Linked DNA regions of Homo sapiens: region 1 is linked to region 2. Evidence: promoter capture Hi-C in human tissues and cell types (Jung and others, 2019). All regions are on one chromosome and are shown on one strand. The core of a region is centred on a gene start or on the middle of the fragment in contact, and the rest is flanking DNA. Distances in the headings are between cores, read along the strand shown.

Region 1 (6,788 bases), core at 199-2,698, 320 kb before region 2:
TTTCAACCATTGTGGAAGATAGTGTGGCAATCCCTCAAAAACCTAAAGTCAGAAATACCATTTGACCTAGCAATCCTATTACTGGGTATATGCCCAAAGGAATATAAATGGTTCTATTATAAAGACACATGCATGCATATGTTCACTGCAGCGCTATTCACAATAACAAAGACATAGAATCAACCCAAATGCCCATCATTTGGCCATTTGGATAAAGAATGGATAAAGAAAATGTGGTACATATATACCACGGAATACTATGCAGCCATAAAAAAGAATGAGATCGTGTCCTTTGCAGGGACATGGATGGAGCTGGAGGCCATTATCCTTAGCAAATGAAGGCAGAAACAGAAAACCAAATACTGCATGTTCTCACTTATAGGTGGGAGCAAAATGATGAGAACACATGGACACACAGAGGGGAACAACACACACTGGAGCTTACTGGAGAGTGGAAGGTGGGAGGAGGGAGAGGATGAGGAAAAATAACTAATGGACACTAGGCTTAATAGCTGGGTGATGAAATAATCTATACAACCAACCCCCATGACACACATTACCTATGTAACAAACCAGCACATCCTGCACATATACCCGCGAAGTTAAAAAAGTTTTTTTTTAGTTGCTACTTTAAAAGGATGTGGGAATCATTGTAAACTCAAAAGTTAAAGATGTGCCAAGAGCTGTCTCCCACGAACTTGTTTAACAAACGTACTGACTTTGTATGTTGATCCAATACCCATGCTGGCCACTGGACATACCAGTACAAACAAGGCAGAATCTTCACTCTCCTCTAGCTCTTCTAATTCTCATGCACTAAGTGCCAACCTTAGCATAACTGGGCTGACAATCAGTGAATCAAATATCTAACTCTTATCCTACTCCAACGTTAAGAAAGAGACATGCGACTGGGTGCGGTGGCTCATGCCTGGAACCCCAGCACTTTGGGAGGCCAAGGTGGGCGGATCACTTGAGGTCAGGAGTTTGAGACCAGCCTGGCCAACATGGTGAAACCCCGTCTCTACTGAAAATACAAAAGTTAGCTGGGCATGGTGGTGCATGCCTGTAGTCCCAGATACTCTACTTGGGAGGCTGAGGCAGGAGGATTGCCTGAACCTGGGAGGCGGAGGTTGCAGTGAGTCGAGATCACGCCACTGCACTCCAGCCTGGGCAACAGAGTGAGACTCCATCTCAAAAAAGCAAAAGAGAGACACATGCAAAGGGCTTGCTCTTTCTTTCTCATCTTACCTATCTTATGTTTTCCTCCAGGATCAAGAGCAAGGAATTTGTTGCATAGAGGTGTTCAAGAAAGGGTGTTTTCAAACAGAGTCAGAAAAAACACAACTATACTGCGAGCAGCATACAAACCTGCTTTGGCTGCACTTCACTGCTCATGGCATAAGGCCACGAAGAGGCCAATAAAGGCTGGAGCTCAGGAGCATCAACCCAGATTCAAGGCTTCCTCTCTGGCACCCAACCATGAAGCTCCTTTTTCCTATCTTTGCCAGCCTCATGCTACAGTACCAGGTGAACACAGGTAATGTGGATTCCCAAGTTTAAGATGGGTAGATGAGAGGAACCAAGGATTTGGCTGCCCATGACAATGGAAACCCAAAGAGAGGAGACTGAAAGATTAGCTGTTCAAAAAGATGGCTAAAGAGCTTACCTATTGTATCAGTCATGCACTGATACATTCTCATAGGCCCCAACTGCCAGATTGTGTCCAGTGGAAACACCCAGGAAGCTACAGAGAAAGCAGGGTATTTTTTGTCTATTCAGAAACTATCCAAAATATAATGCTGCCTTCCTGCCCTGTATATGTCTATCATGCTAAGACTAAGCCCAGGTCTACCTCCTTTTAGCTCTATTTCTATCTTAAAAGCCCTTTTTTTTTAAAAAAAGTCCTGGGGTACTTGTGCAGGATGTGCGGTTTGTTACATAGGTAAATGTGTGTCATGGTTATTTGCTGCACCTACCAACCCATCGCCCAGGTATTAAGCCCAGGATGCATTAGCTATTTTTCCTGATGCTCTCCCTCCACCCAACAGGCCCCAGTGTGTGTTGTTCCCCTTCCTGTGAAACCACCTCTTGAAGCAAAGTTTCCTATCAGTTTGTGCTTGGTGTAGAAAGGAGGAAGTTCTTCCCTCATGCTCAAAAAAAAACCCTTTCAAGATCAAGTAAACAGGCCTGTGTTCTCCATCTTGAATTCTTTCAGGTTTTCCAGAGCCTTTATCGCTTCTCTCAGACTTTGTCTTCCTGAAAACCCCCAAACTACCATAAGGGCATCTAGGAATGCATTATAGCAAAAGGCTAAGCCAGGGGATTAACCATTGTTTTTGGAAAAGAAAGGAGAAGCACTGAGATTTGTTTCAGAATACAAGAATCATCCAGCTATTTGAAAAAATTAGCAAAGGGTTTCGGGGCAGGGAAAGTGGAAGTGTCAAAGATGCTTCTAATGTTTTTATCTTCTAATGTTTTTATCTTGGGACCCTAGGAAAAGGGTAGTACCATAAGCAAGTATGGCTGTGTCATCTTGGGTAAAGTCACTTAACCACTTTGAACTTCAATTTCACATGAGTATAATGGGGTTAATCAATGCAGCTGATTCCAATATAAGAATTTTTCTGTTTCCCGTTTGATGAGAAAACAATGTGGAAATGTATGCAAATATGCTTTGAAAATTAGCAGATGCTACATAAATCTCTTGTAATTTAGGGAAAATCATTGGGTTATTAAGATGAACAAGGGAGAAAAGCTTTCTTGATTCAGAAAAAAGAAACACGAGACATTAGGATGGAAAAGTCATTCAGCAGATAAAGATAAGGTACTAAGCCGAGCAGGAAATTTAGAATTATAGATAACAATACAGAAGTTACCTTGGTGGATATGAGGTTAAGGCTAGGATAATGAATGAGACTTCTGAGAGATAGAGTGTCCAAAGAGGCTAGAAGAGATAGAACACCATGCTTCAGGAATCACAGATCTAGTGATTGTTGAGAAGAGAGAAGTCATGGGCTACTGAGTTTGGTGAAAAGATAAGACTCCTGAAAATTCTATTGATTCTCTTTTGAACTTCTTTCTTAAATTAGTTTTATGATGGACTTGGCTCTCATTGGTATTTCCCAAGATTATGGAGATGGGATAGTGATGTCTGACAAGTACCTAAGATGCTAAGTTGAAGGTCTAAAATTCCATCCTAAAAGCAAATAATTACTCTATCATCTACGTGCCCTTTGCTTCTTAAAGTTACTCAAGGAAGGCAGACTAAACAGGAAATTTACTTTGGATTCAAGAGGGGCATAGAGACGCTCTCAGCCTGCCCATTTGCCTTCATCAACATTCCTAAACACTGGGCTTAAAATGTAGTATGAGTAAACTCTCTCTTAGTCTATCCATCTCCCACTAGCAGTTTTAACATCATCTCTAGTTATTAACCTTGGCTCAATGGCTTTCTCTTTTTTTATACAGAATTTATTGGCTTGAGACGCTGTTTAATGGGTTTGGGGAGATGCAGGGATCACTGCAATGTGGATGAAAAAGAGATACAGAAATGCAAGATGAAAAAATGTTGTGTTGGACCAAAAGTGGTTAAATTGATTAAAAACTACCTGCAATATGGAACACCAAATGTACTTAATGAAGACGTCCAAGAAATGCTAAAACCTGCCAAGAATTCTAGTGCTGTGATACAAAGAAAACATATTTTATCTGTTCTCCCCCAAATCAAAAGCACTAGCTTTTTTGCTAATACCAACTTTGTCATCATTCCAAATGCCACCCCTATGAACTCTGCCACCATCAGCACTATGACCCCAGGACAGATCACATACACTGCTACTTCTACCAAGAGTAACACCAAAGAAAGCAGAGATTCTGCCACTGCCTCGCCACCACCAGCACCACCTCCACCAAACATACTGCCAACACCATCACTGGAGCTAGAGGAAGCAGAAGAGCAGTAATGTGGATCTTTCCCTTAAAACTCCAAGTTCCTCTCTATTTTTGCTATCTATAAAATGACATAGAACTGTTTCCTCTGTCATCAGTCATTCAATAAACACTGTTTGAGCACCTACAGTTTATGTAATATTATCATTCTCACAAGAGCCTCACAGAGGGGGTAGAGCTAGGGAGGGATGGAATTGTTTAAGTTTAGATGCCCAGGAGAAAGTAAGCCTCAGGAGGGTGACTACAGCATCGAGTTTGTCCCAAGCATGGCCTAGATTAGGCCTCTGTAGCAAGCATTTATGTCTCTCATATGGTGTGTTTTTCCTGGAGCAACAGTAAGGAAAGCATCAGGAGATGTATTTTCTTTTCTCATGTATTTGGGAGGAAAGGCCCAAATGCAAAATAGAATATGTAGGAATCAGAAAAAGGTTAAATTAATTGTAATAATATATTTTTGTTTCGTTTTGTTTTGAGACGGAGTCTCACTCAGTTGCCCAGGCTGGAGTGCAGTGGTGTGATCTCAGCTCACTGCAACTCCACCTCCCGGGTTCAAGCAATTCTCCTGCCTCAGCCTCCTGAGTAACCGAGATTACAGGCGCACACCACCACACCCAGCTAATTTTTGTATTTTTAGTAGAGACGGGGTTTCACCATGTTGGTCAGGCTGGTCTCGAACTCCTGACCTCGTGATCCGCCTGCCTCGGTCTCCCAAAATGCTGGGATTACAGGCATGAGCCACCACACCCAACCAATAATGTGTTTTATTGAATGCAATATATCCAAAACATGATCATGTTGACATGTAATCAATGTAAAAATTATTTATGAGAGAGTTTACCTTTTTTGGACTACATCTTTGAAATCTCATATGTGTAATTACACATAGAGCACATTTCTATTCATACTAGCCACATCTCAAGTGCTCATAGTCATATATGAATAGAGGATTTCATAGCATATTGAACAGCAACAAGGCTAGAGAGTTTTAGGGCACAAGTAATTATAGTGACTCTTAGGCATAGGGGATGCCCCTAATCCAGAGGAGACAGGCATATTTCTGAGGGCTGTGGCATATAATTTAAGAGTATAGAAATTCAGGTCTGATATGCCCGGACTAGCATCCTAGATTCTGGCACTTTTTAGCTGTGTGGTCTTGAACAAATCATTTATCCACACATAAGCATCAGTTTATTTATTCATAAAATGGAGATGTGAACATTATATTATATCCCAGAAATCAGCAATCTCAGATCACTCTTCCTCTTATTGCCCAAATTACAATGGCACAGCCACCTATTCTAGTTTTTTAATAGCTTTATTGAAGCATAATTGATATACAGAGAATTGAACATATTTAATGTGAATAATGGCATGAGTTTGGGCATATGCAAAATCCTGTGATACTATCACCACAATCAAGGTGATAGACGTATACATCACCTCCCAAAGTAACATGACCATATTTGTAGAAAACCCTGAAAACTTCACGAACACACACACAAAAATGTAGAACTAAGAAATAGATTCAAAAAAGTCAACATACAAATATCAGTGGCATTTCTATACACTTAACAATGAACCATTCCAAAAGAAAATCAAGGAAACAATCTATTTACAAAAGCAACAAAAAGAATAACATAGGAATAAACTTAACCAAAGAAGTGAAAGAGGTACATTAAAAACTTAAAAATATTGATGAAAAAATCAAAGGAAACACAAATAAATGGAAAGATATTCCATGTTTAGGTATTGAAAGACTTAACATTGTTAAACTGTTCATTCTGTCTAAAGCAATCTACAGATATAATACATCTCCCCCCTTCCAAATCCCAATGGCATTTTTTAAAGAAATGGAAAAAACAATCCTAAAATTCACAGGGTACCATAAAAGACCCAGAATAGCAAAATCAATCTTGAGTAAAAAGAACAAAGCTGAAGGCATCACACTTTCTTATTTCAAAATATATTACAAAGGTATAGTAATTAGGCCAGGCGCAGGGACTCACGCCTGTAATCCAGCACTTTGGGAGGCCGAGGCGGGCGGATCATGAGGTCAGGATATCGAGACCATCCTGGCTAACACGGTGAAACCTCGTCTCTACTAAAAACACAAAAAACAAAAAATAGCCGGGCGTGGTGGCGGGCGCCTGTAGTCCCAGCTACTTGGGAGGCTGAGGCAGGAGAATGGCGCGAACCCGGGAGGCGGAGCTTGCAGTGAGCCGAGATTGGGCCACTGCACTCCAGCCTGGGCGACAGAGCCAGACTCTGTTTCAGAAAAATAAATAAATAAATAAATAAATAAATAAATAAATAAATAATGGTGTTGGGAAAACTGGCTACCCACATGCAGAAGAATGAAATTGGATCCTTATCTCACCCCATATAAAAGAAATCAACTCAAAACGGATTAACGACTTAAACATAAGACCTAAAACTGTAAAACTACTAGAAGAAAACACAGTACTGTTCTGTATTTAAGCTCCATGACATCGTTCTGGGCAATGATTTCTTGCATATGACCCCAAAGCACAGGCAACAAAAGTGAAAATAGGTAACTGCATCCAGATTTTTTAACATATTCTTCTCTGCTACATATCACCTACCTCCATTCAAAGGTCACCTTTCCCCATCCTACTCATTTTTTAATACAGTGTCACTCTAAGAAAGACAAAGATTTTTCATGATGCCCCACAGTGATTCTAGAATATAACTAAAAAATATTTTCCTGGAAGTTTTTGCACAACAGAAAGGAGTTGCAATACAAAGCATAAGTTTAACACCTGCTAGATATGTGTTCTCTGAGGAACCCCAAGCCTACCTGATGGGTGTCAGATTCTCTC
Region 2 (5,866 bases), core at 420-2,919:
ATATACCAGCTAGTCCCTTTACAGTGACAGGTAAAAGCTACTTACTACACTTACTACCTGCCAGACACTGTAGTAAGCACTTGACACAAATTGTCTTATTTACTCTTCTCCGTAAACTCACAAGCTAGAAAATACCATCATCCCCCTTTTACAGACGGGAAAACTGAGGCTTAGAGAGTTTAGGTCACACAGCTAAGTAGCAATGGCCCTGATATTTGAGAACCTAGGCAGTCTGGTTTTTAACCACTGGGCCTACACTGCACTCCTCAGATGGAATGAAGTCTCCAATTCTTGGAAAAATCTTCCCTTCTTAGTTTTCTTTTTTCTTTTTGAGGCGGAGTCTCGCTCTGTCGCCCAGGCTGGAGTGCAGTGGCGGATCTCAGCTCACTGCCACCTCCGCCTCCCAGGTTCAAGCGATTCTCCTGCCTTAGCCTCCCGAGTAGCTGGGATTACAGGCGCGCGCCACCAAGCCCGGCTGATATTTGCATTTTTAGTACAGACGGGGTTTCACCGTGTTGGTCAGGCTGGTCTCGAACTCCTGACCTCGTGATCCACCCGCCTCGGCCTCCCAGAGTGCTGGGATTACAGGCGTGAGCCACACGCCCGGCCTCTCTTCTTAGTTTTCATTTCCTCTCCCCATGTCCCATTCTCGTAGAATTAAACAGCTGAAAAGTAATCAAGTCTTCCCAAATAATTTGCCACCTTCTTTTCAAAACTCTTTCCTCCACACAAAGCAATAGCCAAGATGCAACTTCTCCTGACCCTGACTCTGCTTCCCCAAAACAAACTACAGAAGCTCCACCCATCACCTGCTTAATCTAGCAATGTTCCAACACTGCAAAAAACACACAACGAAAAACAAAATTGAAAAGTCCTACTCTTTCAAAAGGTCACCAACATATGTATACCCTTAGCCAAGCTTTCTCTCCATACCTCTTTTTCTATCCAGGCTCCTAACTAGTCCTTAACTCCAACTCCAGACGTTCTGCCCCACGTCTTGGTCCCTTCCCCCTTTCGCCCCAGCAACCCCGCCTGGGGTTCTCTCCACCTCGCACCCACTCTGCAGGTGGGAAGCTCAGCCCCGCCCAGAGGGACCCTAAGAAGGCCCCTACTCCAGCTGCCCAGTTTCGCGGGAGGGTTCACTGCACACTACCCAGCAGGCACCACTCCCTCCGCACCCTCCCCCAGCACCCCCCTGCGGCCCCACCCCTCAAGTTCCCTTCCCCCTCTGACGACCCCCTCCTCCAAGTTGTCCCCTAGTCCCCACCCAGTTCAGTCCTCTCCTCTGCAATAAGCTGGACTCCGGCAGCCGGTTCCCACCCTCACATCGGCCTCTGCCCCCAAACCTCGCCCTCCGCCCTGAGGGGTGGCCCCTGGGCCTCCCCGATGGGCTGCAGGGGCCTCGCTTGGTTTATGTGTGAAGGTGGGGGCAGGGGAAGGCGACGGGCCGCTCAGGAGTCTGCTGGAAGCGTGAGGGTCGGCCGCGCTCCGCTGCCCTATCCTGGGCCCACCCCACCCGCCAACGACCTCGCCTGGCTGCTCCCTAGGTACCTGTGGTGGAAGCGGCAGCGGCGGCGGCCGCTCTCCCCTCTGCTCACACAGACAATATGGCGGCGATGGAGGAGGAGACACACGGCTCGGCCGCCAGCCGCAGGGACCAGAGCGAGGCTGCAGCCGCTGCTGCCGGAAGCGGAAACCCCCTCCTACCAGGAGGCGGGGCGAGACAGCTTCCGACTCCGCCCCCAGAGGAATCTCTCTGAATGCGGCCATGCTGGGATGTCCTATTGTAACCTTAGGGATTCAGTTCTGGCCTAGGGTGCAAAATGGAAGGAATCCCCAACGCAAAGCAGAATAAGGAGACTTGCAATAGTTAAGCGCATTTTATTTCAATAGTGTTAACAAGTGACAACAGAGAGAACACGAACCTCCCATTAGGTGAACAGTTGGTTTGACCCAAGTTAAGATGGCGGTACCCAGGTTTCCCACACTTCACCCAGCTGGCCCCCCTTTCTTGAAAAGAACCATGCGCGACCTGCAGAGCTGTAGAGCCAAGCATTCTGGGAGCTGAAGTCTCTTTTGCTCTGACCCCTCGTTTTAAATTAGGGTTTCAGCAACACTTTCTATTCAAACTTGGAGTTCGGAAGAAGTGAATGAAAGTTGGACCCTAGGAAGGGCATGGCGCAGGAGTCTGAGAAGTGAGGATACTAGCTCTCAAGAGACCAAGGCCCAATTCCTTCCTCCTACAGGAGTCCTGCCAAGAGCTGTGCGTCCAAAATACAGTGTTTTTTTTTCCTTCTATCTGCCTCCCACCCCTGCTCTCCTTGCCCGAGCTACCTCCCCAAAACAGCCACAAAGCACTTTCTACCATGCAGAGCTCATCATGGTCTCCCTATGGTCAAAAATCTCCCATGGACCTCTTTATGCACCAAAGATAGCCCAAACTCTTCACTTGACATTCAGAGTCCTCCATAATTTGGCCAAACCCTCCTTTCCAGCCTCCTATTCTGCCACTCTCTTCTCAAATTCCGGAAGATTCCACCCACAAGACTGCAAACAATTCCTGGAACTTAGCTGTGTTGCCTCCCTCCCTTTACACTGGCAGTTACTTCTCTTACTGTCACCTCATGGACTGGATAATTTCTGTATGCCGATTGAACTAATTCAGGGATCCTTTCCTCTAGGGGTCTCCTCTCTGTTTAACTCCCTCCAACCCAGACACTATCAGTCAGTAACCTGAGGACCTCAGTCTGTCTCCTCCATCAGACTGGGAGCCCCCAGTGGACAGGGCTCCATCTGATGATCAACCTCTCCTTTGCAGGCCCTGATAAAAGCTGAAGCGTCTAAGAGTTGCTGAAAGGAGTTCAAGTATTAGTCTCACCTCTGGTGGGACAGAGGTGTGAGCACTGGAACGAGGGTGAGGAGGCCAGGTTCTTTCAGTACCAACCATTATCCCTAACTGTCTCAGAATAGCTGGTTGTCTCAGGAATGGGCCTCTCCACCCTCCACAGCCCTGCCTTCACAGTTTGTCAGCTGACTAGCACCTCTGCTCCCAAAGAGGCACCTCTTCCCCATGTGGGGTTAGGGCTGGTGGTGGCTGCAGACTTATAGTGATGGCCTCAGGGAGGTGGCTGTGGCCTTCTCTGGACCTCATCTGCTAGACAGCTTGTGACATCTGATCCCAATTGCCTGGGAACCCACAACAGTTTTTCTCTCAGTGTCCTGTAACTGGGCCTCAATTTCCCCACTTGTGGACTGAGGAGGTTATACAAGATAATCCCAAAGTTTCTGGGAAGCCATCTTCCAGGAAATGATACCCTTCTACCTACCTCTCGAACGTATCTTTTTGGCTCTTGTGGCTTTGTTTTTCCCAACTGTATTCACATTTGTTTAACTCACAACAATTCATCATTTGCTATGAGCCAGACACTGTGCTAGGTACTGGGGATGTGTTATGAGGAAGACATACACCAGTTGCTCACTGGTGGAGCTTACCTTCTAAAGTGAGAAGCAAGTAATGCACAGGTAAACAAATGCATAAACAAAGTAATTTCAGGTAGCAATAAGTGCTACGAAAGGAAAAGATAAGTAGCTGTGAAGTATAGAGCTTTAGCTTGAGTGGTTCAGAAGGTCCCTTTGAGAAGGAAACAGTAAGTGCAAACGTCCCAAGGCAGGAAAGAGCATCACAAGTTTGAAGAAGGAGGCCATGGTGGCTGAAGCACTGCAAATAAAGGGAAGAAGAGGAAGAAATATGGTGGGAGAGGTGGGCAGGGCATTCAGGTCATGATAAGGAAGCTGGGTTTTCATCTGAGTGTAGTGAGGATATTTCCCATTGCTTAGCCTTCATGCCTTTCCAATCTCAGCCTCTCTCACAGCATTAGTTCTTCATTCTTCTTCCTAGTTCTGGCCTCTATCCATGACTTCATTCAGAGGGCTCACCTGGGCACACATATACAACCCTCATACTCATGCAGGACATAATTGAAACCCAACTCCTGCCGTCTACTACGCCAGCCTCATGTAGGTCTCCGGTCTCAAGAGGCTTCCCATCCCAAGTGTTCACCTAGTTGTAGACTTAACATTTATCCTTAACTCTTACTGTCTCTGATCCCCCACATCACACCTCTCAGGCTAGTCTTTCTGCAAACAACAGCAGCAGAAGCAAGAGTTAAGATGTTGAGAGTACTTGCACTGTGCCACACACTGAATGTTCATCATCTCACTTAATCCTCATGTCAACCTGATGAGGTAGAAACCAAAAGTATCTCACCGTACAGATGAGGAGACTCAGGTTCACAGAGATCACAGGCCATGCCCAAGGTCACATGCCGGAGATGGAGCTTGCATTTCAACCTGGGCCATTAGAGTGACTCTCTCTCTCTCTCTCTCTTTTGAGACAGGATCTTGCTCTGTTGTCCAGGCTGGAGTGCAGTGGCATGATCACAGCTCATTATAACCTTGAACTCCTGTGCTTAAGCGATCCTCCCACCTTAGCCTCCTGAGTAGCTAGGACTACAGACATGCACCACCATGCCTGGCTCATTTTTAATTTAGTAGTATTATTATTACTATTATTATTATTGTACAGATGGGGTCTTGCTATGTTGCCAGGGCTGGTCTTGAACTCCTAGGCTCAAGCAGTTCCCCTGCCTTGGCCTCCCAAAGTGCTAGAATTACAGGCAAAAGTTTTAATCATGCACTAAGAACCTAAGTGTATTTGCTTTCTATTGCTGCTTAACAAAATCACCCCACAATATAGTGGCTTAAAACAACAATATTTTATGTTTGTGTGGATTGGCAGTTTGGACATGTCTCAGCCAGGACAGCTCTTTTCTGCTCCAAGTGGTCTTTCCTGGCTTACTCTTACGTTTGCTGTCAGTGAACAGGCCAGCAAACTGGTTAGAACTCCATGGCCTCATTCACATGTCTGGCAGTTGGTTGGGGTTGTTGGCTTGAGTGCCTTGGTTCTCCTCCATGTTGCTTCTTCAGTAAGCTAACTCAGGCTTACTTACATGACGGCCCCCAGAAGAAAGAAAACAAAAGCAGCAAGATCTCTTCAGATCTAGGCTTAGAAATGATATAGCATCATTTTCACTGTATTATATCGATCAAAGGCAGTCATATGGCCAGCTCAGATTCAAGGAGAGTAGAAATAGATTCCATCTCTTCATGAGAAAAACATCAAATCATACTGCAAGGAGTCATGTGTATAAGGAGGGTGGAATTGTTGTGGCCACCTTTGCAAACATTATATCACATAAGTAATCGTAGGCATGGAACTGGTTAAAGAAATTATGGTACAGCCAGACATGGGGCTATTCACAGCAATGAGAACTAACATTTTTGAGCACTTAATATGTGTCAGACACTGTACAAGATGCTTTACATCTATTAACTCATTTAATCCTCACAACAGCTCTCTGTGGCCAGTACATTTTTAATCCCCATTTTAGAGATTAAGAACACCAAGTCTCAGAGAGGTTAAACAACTAGTCCAATGTCACACAGCAAGTGACAAAGCCATTGAAAAGAATGAAGACAGTATTATGTCCTGACATAGAAATCTGGCCCTGACATTCTGTTATACGATACAAAGCAAGAGACAAACAGTAGTTTGATCAGAAAACATTTAAAAAGCACATTTAAATAATTAGGAGATGTGTGTCTTTTTTTTTTCTGAGATGGAGTTTCACTCTTGTTGCCCAGGGTGGAGTCCAATGATGCCATCTTGGCTCACTGCAACCTCCGCCTTCTGGGTTCAAGCGATTCTCCTGCCTCAACCTCCCGAGTAGCTGGGATTACAGGTGCCCACCATGCCCAGCTAATTTTTGTATTTTTAGTAGAGATGGGATTTCACCATGTTGGCCAG

The links. The method cuts DNA at HindIII sites, captures the fragments that hold promoters and counts their contacts. A contact is called where the count stands out against the background at its distance.
Region 1: the fragment with the promoter of DEFB129 here is called in contact with the fragment with the promoter of CSNK2A1 in region 2 in 2 of the 25 tissues and cell types used here (IMR-90 fibroblasts and lymphoblastoid cells).

What each region holds. Positions count from the first base shown.
Region 1 is chr20:225,810-232,597 of GRCh38, forward strand. It overlaps DEFB129 (defensin beta 129), which reads left to right and starts at 1,449. Exons shown (of 2, transcript NM_080831.4): 1 at 1,449-1,537; 2 at 3,469-4,077. The coding sequence starts at 1,480. The coding sequence ends at 3,962. The HindIII fragment of the contact is 8,784 bases long and covers 1-6,788 here.
Region 2 is chr20:542,121-547,986 of GRCh38, forward strand. CSNK2A1 (casein kinase 2 alpha 1) reads right to left here and starts at 1,670. Exons shown (of 14, transcript NM_177559.3): 1 at 1,552-1,670. RefSeq lists enhancers at 1-683, 1,377-2,070, 1,556-1,705, 1,726-1,805, 1,916-1,965 and 1 more and a silencer at 1,176-1,235. The HindIII fragment of the contact is 15,109 bases long and covers 1-5,866 here.